2 separate regions of the Homo sapiens genome follow, and region 2 is linked to region 1. Evidence: promoter capture Hi-C in 16 types of primary human blood cells and fetal thymus (Javierre and others, 2016). All regions are on one chromosome and are shown on one strand. The core of a region is centred on a gene start or on the middle of the fragment in contact, and the rest is flanking DNA. Distances in the headings are between cores, read along the strand shown. Region 1 holds the start of PDZD9 (PDZ domain containing 9). Region 2 overlaps VWA3A (von Willebrand factor A domain containing 3A).

What was found. The method cuts DNA at HindIII sites, captures the fragments that hold promoters and counts their contacts. A CHiCAGO score of 5 or more calls a contact.
Region 2: a fragment that was not itself captured here is called in contact with the fragment with the promoter of PDZD9 in region 1 in 3 of 17 cell types (M0 macrophages, M2 macrophages and M1 macrophages); the score reaches 11.0 in M0 macrophages.

What each region holds. Positions count from the first base shown.
Region 1 is chr16:21,997,944-22,003,549 of GRCh38, forward strand. It overlaps PDZD9 (PDZ domain containing 9), which reads right to left and starts at 3,173. Exons shown (of 4, transcript NM_001363519.1): 1 at 3,074-3,173. The coding sequence starts at 3,104. It also overlaps the pseudogene LOC100420536. RefSeq lists an enhancer at 3,319-3,368. The HindIII fragment of the contact is 4,622 bases long and covers 1-4,547 here.
Region 2 is chr16:22,116,564-22,122,327 of GRCh38, forward strand. VWA3A (von Willebrand factor A domain containing 3A) reads left to right here. Exons shown (of 34, transcript NM_173615.5): 10 at 196-304; 11 at 548-613; 12 at 2,339-2,464; 13 at 4,405-4,540; 14 at 4,951-5,054. Among named protein-coding and RNA genes, the nearest start is that of VWA3A, 27 kb to the left of the region's middle. The HindIII fragment of the contact is 6,294 bases long and covers 454-5,764 here.

The DNA of each region.
Region 1 (5,606 bases), core at 1,923-4,422:
TGGCTGTGGGGAGCTGGAGGGGTTCATGGCCCTTTCCTCTAAAGCAAATGTCCTTGCCCATCTCCAACCTCACCTTCCCCCAAACCACAGATGCTCTCTGTTTGGGAAAATAAAATAGCATAATATAAACAAGATACCATCTTCAGAGACCTTTCAGGGTTCTGGGAGCAACTGGGGGCAGGATACGCCCTGCCTGAGCCTCTGGTTCCTGAGCAAACAGAGAAGTCACATCTTGGGCAAGGTCCAGTGGTTCCTATCTCAGTTTGTAAATTCAATATGCTTATAAGGTAAGCTACCAGGAGCCCACTTTTAAAAGTCAGCAGGGTTAAGTAAAAGAAGCCAGACTCAAAAGGCTCCTTACAGAAGAAGGACATGTCTCAGGAGTTTGATCCAGACCTCTATAAGCAAATGCAGAAGTTCGGGAAGGCAAGAAACACAAGTACATCTTGAAAAAAAAACAAAAAAAACTTTGTGCAAGGCACGGTAGCTCACGCCTGTAATCCCAGCACTTTAGGAGGCCAAGGCGGGTAGATCACGAGATCAGGAGTTCGAGACCAGCCTGGCCAACATGGCGAAACCTGTCTCTAAGTTACAAAAAATTAGCTGGGCATGGTGGCGCGGGCCTGTAATCCCAGCTACTTGGGAGGCTGAGGCACGAGAATCGCTTGAACCCAGGAGGCAGAGGTTGCAGTGAGCTGAGATGGCGCCATTGTACTCCAGCCTGGGTGACAGGGCGAGACTCTGTCTCAAAAACAAAAAAAAATTATCTGGGCATGTTGGTGCATGCCTGTAATCCCAGCTACAAGCCTGGGTGACAGAGCAAGACTCCATCTCAAAAAAAAAAAAAAAAAAAAAAAAAGAGAGAGAAAAAAACCTTGACAAAGTGAAGTTGGATGTAGATTTTCTTGGAGCAAGTAAATACATGCAATCTCCTGTCTCAAATGCTAGCAACATACCAGACCACTCTGCTTCATTTTGGAGAGAAGACTTCTCACACTATGGCAGCCATCCATGAGAGCTTCACAGGTTATCAGCCATATGAAGTCACTACTTTAAAGCACTTACAAAACCCTCTGAAAAAACTAGTTGAGAAAGAAGAAAAGAAGCTCACCCAGCAGGAAAGCACAGATGTAACAGTGCAGGAGCTGAGTCAATTAATTTCATTAGAGGATGAAAACCACGACAAGGAAAACACTGAAGATGGAAAAGGTATTTTATGTGTTTTAGGCAAAGGCTCTTCACACAGTGCATGCTCAGGATGAACTATTAGACATGAAACCTGAGGAAAGTGCTCGCTAGGGCCCAGTGGCAGGGACCCTGGAACCCGAAGGTACTGACAAAGATGATCCTACTGCTGTTGAAAGTGAGATCTTCAATGCTTCCTCCCTGGAAAAGGGTGAGCTCAGAAAAGAGTGAGCTGCTGTGTTTGGGGACAACCAGGTGGAGGAGGCAGCACTATGGTCCTCGGAGAGCCAGACCCCAAGCACCAGACTAAAATATGAAAGACTTACAGGTTTTGCTACAAGGCTAGTCAGACAGCAATGTCAACCTTCCCAAGGACAAGCAGTCCAAATGACAACAGCCCTGCAGTGAAAAAGCCTAAGGCTGTCTGGCACCTGCCTGCCTAGTTCAGCCTCTTTGCCAACCTCAAGTCTTATCAAATCCTGATGCTGTGCGGAAAAAAGCCATAAAGAACAAGAATTGCTCAGTGCAGGAGTCTGCATCCTTCAGTAAGCCCACCTGGGGGCTAGCAGAAGTATAAAGTGATTAGAGCCTGGGCAACATAGTGACACCTCATCTCTTCTATTTAGGCTGGGCATGGTGGCTCACACCTGTAATCCCAGCACTTTGGGAGGCCGAGGGTGGGCGGATCACTTGGGGTCAGGAGTTCGAGACCAGCCTGGCCAGCATGGTGAAACACCGTTGCTACTGAAAACACAAAAATCAGCCAGGCGTGGTGGTTCACGCCTGTAATCCAAGCTACTCTGGAGGCTGAGGGGCAAGAATCGCTTGAACCCGCCTGGAAGGCGGGGGTTGCAGTAAGCCAAGATCATGCCGCTGCACTCTAGCCTGGGTCACAGAGCAAGACTCTGTCTCAAAAAAAAAAAAAAAATTAGCTGAATGTGGTGGTGCATGCCTACAGTCCCAGCTATGGGAGGCTGATGCAGGAGGATTGCTTGAGCCCAAGAATTGGAGGCTGCAGTGAGCCAGGAGCATACCACTGCACTCCAGCCTGAGCGACAGAACAAGACTCTGTCTCTAAAAATAAAATACAGTGACCCATATGCTATTTTAAGATTTATGTGCCCTTTTAATAAAAATGAAAGGGCCAAAGTCCCTATTTACATTGGTATAATTTTTTAAAGGCTCCTTACTATGTGATTTCATTTTTATGATGTTCTCCATGGAAAAGGCAAAAAAAAAAAAACGCTGTAAAAAACAGATGGGGGTGTGAGGAGCTGCAGTGGGGTGGGGTTTGGCTGCAACTGGGCATTGCAAAGTAATTTTAGGGAGTGGTGGAACTGTTCCCTATCTTGATGGAGGGGGTGGTTCAACGTGGGTATAGCTTGTCAAAACGGTAGCTGTACTTTTAAAAGGGGGGATCTTACTGCATGGAAATTATACCTTGATAAAAATAACGATGGCCAAGGCGGGCGGATCACTTGAGGTCAGGAGTTTGAGACCAGCCTGGCCAACATGGTGAAATCCCATCTCTACTAAAAATAAAAAATTAGCTGGGCATGGTGGCAGGCACCTGTAATCCCAGCTACTCGGGAGGCTAAGGCAGAGGAATCACTTGAGCCTGGGAGGCAGAGGTTGCAGTGAGCTGAGATCGCGCCACTGCACTCCAGCCTGGGGGACAAAGCAAGACTCCTTCTCAAATGATGATGATGATGATGATGATGATGATGATGATGATGATGATGATGATAATGATGATGATGATAACAACAACGATGGAGAGAGGTTATCTCCCAGGCCAAGAGTGCACCGTTGCCATTTTACAGAGGAGGAACATTGACGAAGGCTTGGTCCCCAGGGCTTCTTCACCCGCTTCCTTCTCCCCAGTTACCTTTTTTGTTTTTGTGGGAGGCCTTCTGCATGGTCCCGGGAGGTCAGGCAGCCCGGGAGGGCCTCCCGGAGCAGAGGCTGGAGTCAGTCCCAATGCCAACAGTTTCGAACCTTGCCCGCGGGCACTGCCCTCGGGATGGCCGCCAGGGGGCGCTGCGCCGCCACTGCCCAGAAATTGGGCGGCAGTGAGGTCGCCGCAAGGCTTCCCGTGGACCCTGCAAAACGTGGCGTGGGCATTGCACACCATTGTACTGTATGGAAACTTCTGCAGAGGTTAGCACCGTGCCTGACCCACGGTGGTTTCTTCATTCCTTCTTTTCTTTTTCTTTTTTTAAGAGACGGGCAGGGGGTGGGGGTCTCACTATGTTGCTCAGGCTCAACACAACTGTTGCACTATGGGCTCAAGCGATCTGCCCGCCTCAGCCTCCCAAAGTGCTGGGATTACAGGCATGAGCCACCGCGCTTGGCTTCTTCATTCATTCTTGGTGAACCTAAGAAATAGGGAGGGGGAGAAGGCACAGAGGAGGGTGTCTCAAAGATGTGAGGTGGTCTGCAGAGGAAGATCACAGCCAGAAGATCACAGGAGATCACAGAATACCTAGAAGATCAGAGAATCCCCCGCTGCACTTCTAATAATGGTATTTTAAAAAAATTGTTACATCAGTAGCTCCAATGCTTTGGAACTGCACTTTTTTTCATGAATGTTTTGAATAAGAAAAGGCCCCAGGGTGGCCTAAAAAAAAATGAGTCACTATTAGGAGAGGCACTATTAATGCTTCCTTCTTTTTTCCAAGATAATTCTTCCTCCCACACACATTCACTCATACAACAAGTATTTACAGGGAGCTGTTCTGTCATTTACTGATACTGGGGACACAACAGTAAGCAAGACAAACACAGAAACACAGGCTCTATCCTCTTGAAACCTGTACTTAAAAAACAGATGAAGTGGACAATTTTAGGAAAATATAAATTATTAAAAATAAATTCTAGGCCAGGTGTGGTGTCTAACACCTGTAATCCTAGGTACTCAGGAGACTGAGGCAGGAGGACTGCTTGAGCCCAGGAGTTTGAGATCAGCCTGGGCAACATAGTGAGACCCTTTCTCTATAAAAAAAATTTAAAAATTAGCTGGGCATGGTGGTGCACATCTGTAGTCCTAGCTACTCAGGAGGCTGAGATGGGAGGATCACTTGAGCCCAGGATTCAAGGCTGCAGTGAGCTATGATTGAGTCACCACCTTCCAGCCTGGGTGATGGAGCAAGATCCTGTCTCAAAAAATAAAAATGAATAAATGAGTTAGTAAATTCTAGAAGAAAGAGAAAACCTAATGAGGTAGGCCCTGGTGTTATCCCCGGTCTGATGAAACTGAGAGGCTAAGCACCTTGCCCCATCCCTTCAACAAACAGTCATTAACCACCTATTAGGTGTCAGGCACTGTGCAAAGATTTCCATGGTAGATCTGGTTATGTCCAAGCTTATTCTGTTGTTTCTGTGGCTCTACACAGACAATAAGCCAGGGCAGATTCCTCTTTAGGTTCCTTTTTTTTTTTTTTTTTTTTGAGATGGGGTCTCATTCTGTCACCCAGGCTGGAGTGCAGTGACAAAATCTCAGCTCACTGCAACCTCCGCCTTCCAGGCCCAAGCGATCCTTCCACCTCAGCCACCAGAGTAGCTGGGACCACAAGCCTGTGTCACCACGCCCAGCTAATTTTTGTATTTTTAGTAGAGACAGGGTTTTGCCATGTTGGCCAGACTGGTCTCCAACTCCTGAGCTCAGGGTGATCCACCCGCCTTGGCCTCCCAAAGTGCTGGGATTACAGGCGTGAGCGCCAGGACAGATTTCTCATTAGATAAAACCTGTGTCGTAGAGACCAGTACAAAGGGCTATTCTCCACCTCAAGTCTCCTGTGGGTGACTTCTTGTGACAGGTCACCTTTCCTCTTCCAAACAGTCTGGCAGGGGTCTACATAGATACCAACTTAATTCTATCATAAAATACATCTTTTTCCTCCATCTTCCTACCAGCAGGGGAAGGGTAAGAGTTTGTGGGAATAGAGCCCATCAGCATATATGGTTCTGTGATGGAGCATATCAGTGCCTGGCCTCCCCTTAGTCTTCCCTCCACCCCAGGCTAAAAAGTGTCTTTAAAGCGGAGGTCTCTACACTCCACCAAGCCAAGTAAGCCAAGGTCACACTGATTGGTGGAACTGCAGGATACAAACTGTCCTGGGTGCTGTGCTGCCCAGATCCCCCTTCAGGGCTGAAAGACTTACACTTCCCACCCTCACTACTACTACTGGCTGGAAAGAACGCCTTGCCCAAGATCTCACCTTCCTAGATTAACTAGCATCTGGTGACTGGTCAATGCAGGGCCATCCCAGGTTCAGAACTCCCCACGTGGTCCACTGCAGCCTTACTTTTCCCTCTGCCCTGTCCTGCTTCATTCCTTTTTTTTTTTTTTTTTTTTCAGAGAGAGTCTCACTCTGTTGCCTAGGATGGAGTGCAGTGGAGTGATCTCGGCTTACTGCAAC
Region 2 (5,764 bases), core at 2,351-4,850, 120 kb after region 1:
CCCACCCATCTGCAGAGGAGGCAGAGGGCAGACAGGCCTGCAGTCCACCTAGCCCTGCATGCCACATAGGTGACCTGTGACACAGGTGGCCAGTTAAGAATGGGTAGATGTTCCTTGGGAATTACCGTTTTGCTCTGGAATGTTCTCAAAGTGGTCTGACCTGGGATTTCCACTTCTCTTCTGCCTTCTCCACAGCCCAGATCAGCCTTCTGAAATCCTGTCTGACTACATCCAGCAGTCCACCATGGGAAGAGACCTCATCATCCACTTCATCACCTACAGATGCGATGATCAGATGCCCCCTGTGAGTGCCCGAGATTCTCTGAGGTGCCCCTTGGCTTTGGTGGTAGTGAGCTGGGCTGGCCTTTGAGGCCTCATGCTTGGACAGGCCCCCGAGCTGTGGACCAGAATGCACCTGTCCCTGTGCCTGGTTCTCCCTTTGGTAAAATGGGAAGCTTTGGATAATTGGGAGGTTCAGTCAAGGAGAAGGCTTACTGGAGTATTGGTGTTGCCCTAGTGAGGCCTGACCCTGGCCTCATCCCTGCAGGCTGTCCTGAAGAACCTTGCAGAAGCTGTTAGGGGCTACTACCACTGCTACAGCCCAAAGATGGAGGTAAGCCCTTCTGTCAACACATGGCCCCTCTTCTTCTCTCCTTGTCTGCCTCCAAGGTTGTACCCAGGAGATCTGGGCCAGGACCATACTATATACTTGTTTCTCCTTTTCTCCTTGTCCCCACCTGTATTCAATGAGGTTACACAGGTAAAATCAGGTTAGAATGAATATGTGGGAAGACCAGGGACAACCTGAAGTCACAAGAGATGCTTTGATCAGCCTGTATGATGCATTGATTGAATGCGTGGGAGCCCAGAGGCCTTTTAAAGCCCTGCCTGCAGAATCCTCAGTCTCACTCCAGTTGCCGTTAATATAGGCCCCAGCCTAGCTCTGCTCCCACCAAAGCACTAAGTCTGAATTGCCTCGATTTTCTCTCCTAGATCAACTCCTGCTACTGCAGGGAACCCACTGCAGAGCGAAATGAGCAATCCATTCTGTACCGATCCATCCATTACTGTCCTTGTCCCAGTTAATAACTAGACATCAGCCACCCTGTGTTCACAAGGGAGGCAACGATTAGCAAACATGTGTGTAGATCCATTTGGAAGATTAAGAATGCAATCATCTGGTTGCTCCCAGGCTGTGTCTTGCCTACCATTAATAACCATGAGTAAATGAGTGTTTGCATCTCACAAGTGAATTCAAAGGTCACAAGGTCCCTGCTTTTCATAGCAGGGAGCCAAGCTCAGGCAGCACTCTATCTTGATACCTCATCATCTAGACTCTCTCTGCAGGTGACTCAGACTACAGAGGTTAGAAAGGTAAAGTAAATGACTGAAACTGACTGGTTTAAGAAATATTTTATCTTAAAACCTGTGGCTTGACCAGGCATGGTGGCTCATGCCTGTAATCCTAGTGCTTTGGAAGGCCGAGACAGGAAGATCATTTGAGGCCACGAGTTTGAGACTAGCCTAGGCAATATAGTGACAGCCCATCTCTACAAAAAATTTAAAAATTAGTCTGGTGTGGTAGCACATGGCTATAGTCACAGCTACTCAGGAGGCTGACACAGGAGGATCACTTGAGCTCAGGAGTTTGAGGCTGCAGTGACCAATGATTGCACCACTGCACTCTAGCCTGAGTGACAGAGCAAGACCCTTTCTCTAAAAATAATAACAAAATAAATAAATTATTATTATTATTATAGCCATCCTAGTGCGTGTAAAGTGTTTCTTTACACTTTTACAGTTAGAAAACTCTTCAATTGTTTTAAAACACAGCAGGTCAGGATGGGTGCAGTGGCTCACACCTGTAATCCCAGCACTTTGGGAGGCCGAGGCGGGCAGATCACAAGGTCAGGAGATTGAGACCATCCTGGCTAACACGGTGAAACCCCGTCTCTACTAAAAATAACAAAAAATTAGCCGGGCGTGGTGGCGGGCGCCTGTAGTCCCAGCTACTGGGGAGGCTGAGGCAGGAGAATGGCGTGAACCCAGGAGGCGGAGCTTGCCGTGAGCCGATATTGTGCCACTGCACTCCAGCCTGGGTGACAGAGCGAGACTCCATCAAAACAAACAAACAAACAAAACACAACAGGCCAATTGCACAAACGGAGCACAGCATGTCTGCAGGCTCTGTCTGGCACATGGGTCCCAGTGTATAAGGCCTGGTGGAGAGAGTCTGACCCTCTGCCTGGGCATTGGCCTGGCTGCTTGCCCCTTCCTGGGTTGACCCCTGCAGGTAGTCAAGTGATTCCGGATGTCTGATTGCTCTTGCCACCCTCAGCACTACACCAGCCGGGACATGGATGAGCTCCTGGCAGAAATTCAGAAGGCCCAGAGCCTCCTCAGCCACGTGCAAGCCCTGCAGCACAGCAGCCCCTGTGAGGCGCTCACCTGCACCATGGAGGAGGTAGGTGGTGCGAGTGTCAATTCTGGGGCCTTCTCCCAGCAGCACTCAGCTGGCCTCGTTCCCCTTTCTCACCTGTTCATAGGGGGCACAGCTGCCAGTGCCTGTCACTTCCTAAAATCGAAACAAGGCAAGGCCCACCCTCCATTGCACCCCAGAGCTCTGAGTTGGGTGGGCTGGGTGGGCCCACCATGGTACCGGAAAGATTCTGGTGGATTTACTAACTGTAAAATTTATTTCAGAGAAAGACCAGCAGGCTCCTGCCACCCTCTCTATCCTGTCACTGTCCCCTCCCTTACCCCCAGTTTGGAGAATGATGAAAACCTCAACCACCCAGAATAGGCTGCCTTTAAGAGAGTCATTCTCACCTCAGCCATGGCTTACACCTGAAATCCCAGTGCTTTGGGAGGCCAAGGCCAGAGAATCGCTTGAGTCCAGGCATTCAAGACCAGCCTGAGCAACATGGCAAAACACCGTCTCTACAAAAGATTAAAAAATTAGCCAGGCACGATGGCATGTGCCTGTAGTTCCAGCTACTCAGGAGGCTGAGGTGGGAGGATGATTGAACCTGGGAGATTGAGGCTGCAGTGAGCCATGATGGCACTGCTGTGCTCCAGCCTGGGCAACAGAGCGAGGCCCTGTCTCAAAAAAGAATTTTAAAAATATACAAATACAATAATAACAATTAGTATTAGAATTATAATAGTTCTTGGCCAGGTGTGATGGCTCATGCCTGTAATCCCAACACTTTGTGAGGCTGAGGCAGGTGGATCGCTTGAGGTGAGGAGTTCAAGACCAGCCTGGCCAACATGGTGAAACCTCGTCTCTACTAAAAATACAAAACTTAGCGAGGCATGGTGGCAGGCACCTGTAATCCCAGCTACATGGGAGGCTGATTCAGGAGAATCTCTTGAACCCAGGAGGCAGAGGTTGCAGTGAGCCTAGATAGTCCCACTGCACTCCATCTTGGGTAACAGAACAAGACTCCCAAAAAAAAAAAAAAATTATAATAGTTCTCATTTATTAAGTCCTCATTATGAGATAGGCACAATGTTCAATTATTTAAATGCTTTATCTTAACACTCTGAGGTAAGTATGTTATTACTTTTTATAGATGAGGAAACCAAAGTTAAGAGGTTACATAACTTGCCTGAGATTGCAAAGATAGAAATAGATTGAGTTTGGATTGAACCCAGGTCTAAGGCCCAAAACCTTGCCAAGAGTTTCCCAAAATGAAGTGCATGTACTACTTGTAGTTTGCAAGATGATTTTAGGTGGTGCATGGATTAAATTATTTTTTAAATGGTATCTATTTAAAACTAGCTCATTATGGTCATCATAGATCTTCTTTCTAAAATTGTGAAAGGGATTGAATTTTTAAAATTAAAGAAAATTAATAACTAAAAAGCATTAATGTTACATATTGATTCTTAAAATATTAATAATAATACAGTAGCACTCAGATATAGCAAAATTCATGAAGGCAGTGCTCAAATCTCTGAAGTTTGGGACTTGCTGTTCTATTTTTACTTACACATTCGCTATGTAATTTAATCTCTCAGCGCCTCAGTTCTTTACTTTGTCAATGTGGCCACAGGGTGGCCAGGTGGGAGCTCACTAAGTGATTTGCTGCAGGAGTTTTTAGGGGTGACCTGTCACCTTGGAGTCCATGGTGCTGATCTTCATGGTAAGGTTAGGGAAGGAGCCAGGAGCATGGGCCACTGTGAGAGCGAGTTGCTGGGTACTCCTTCCTCTTCCCCTGGAAATTCCAGAAATCTGCAGAGAAGGGGAGGGGATGATGGAAGGGAAAGGCAAAACTGCCTTTAATCTACCAGGGAGTGTTTAAGAAGCTCCACTTGCATTGACTGGGTGGAGGGTGAAGACTGAGGACTTTTCAGCTCTAAAATATGATTATGTAATGAGGGCTTTCTCATTTAACTTAGATTTCCACAGAGATTACAAATGGGCCACTCATAAGCCTCTTGCCTAAACCCCCAAAGCATGACGCTCCTCTCACCATTGAGTTTCCAAACTTGGACAAGACTTCTGCAGAGTGGCTTAAGGTCAATGGTCTGAAAGGTAAATCTCCAAAGAGGGCAGAACCCAGGAAACAGGTGACTGACTAAAAGGCTTGAATCCGGCCGGGCACAGTGGCTCACACCTGCAATCCCAGCACTTTGGGAGGCCAAGAAGGAAGGATCAGTTGAGGCCAGGGATATGAGACCAACCTAGGCAACATAGCAAGACCCCATCTCTATAAAAAATAAAATTAGCTGGGTGTGGTGGCATGCACCTGCAGTCCCAGCTACTCAGGTAGGCTGAGGCAGGAGAATACCTTGAGCCCAGGAGTTTGAGGATGCAGTGAGTTATGATTGTGCCACTGCACTCTAGCCTGGGTGACAGAGCAAAACCCTGTCTCAAAAAAATAAAAGGCTTGAACCCTTTGGAGCTTCTCAGGCAGTGCCTCCAACCTCACACTTTTTTTTCAGCCAAGAAATTAAGTCTATATCAGGTCCTGGCACCCAATGCATTCTCTCCTGTGGAGGAATTTGTACCTATTCTCCAGAAAACAGTATCATCGACCATCCATGAGGTAATTCAGATTCATAATTCTCTCCAGTCCTCCACAGGAGAGCTCCCTTGTGGCTTTTCCTACCTTCATAAATGTTCTGGCAGTAAGAATCACCAGGGATTCAGGCTTCCCACCCAGGACCCTAGAATGCACATCAAATCCACTGTAGCTGTTGGTTTTCAAAGATCTGAAAATTGAACTTGGGAGATGAGGCAAGAGGGATAAATCAGGTACCACGGTCACCTCCTCCATGAAGGTTTTCTCCTCCCAACTCAGACAGGACAGACTTGCTTTCTTTATGTCCTCGCTGTACCTAATGCAGACTTCTGCAATTGCTCCCATAAAGGATTAATGCATGAATTTTTACATATTTAAATCCCCATCAAGTATGAAGTATAAAGAGGGCAAACTCTTCTCTAACTCTCTATCCTCCATGTTTAGTATAAGTAGGAAATCAATGCATGTTTACTGGATGGCTGAGAAGGTAGTTGGAAGAAAGGATGGCAAGAAGAAGGAAAAGAATGATGGATGGATGGATGGATGGATGGATGGATGGATAGGTAAATGGATGAATGGATGGATGAGTGGATGGATAGATAGATGGATGGATAGATGGATGGGTGGGGGGGTGGGTGGGTGGATGAATGGATGGATGGATGGATGAGTGGATGGATGGATGGATGGGTGGATGGATGGATGGATGGATGGATGGATGCATGGATGGATGGATG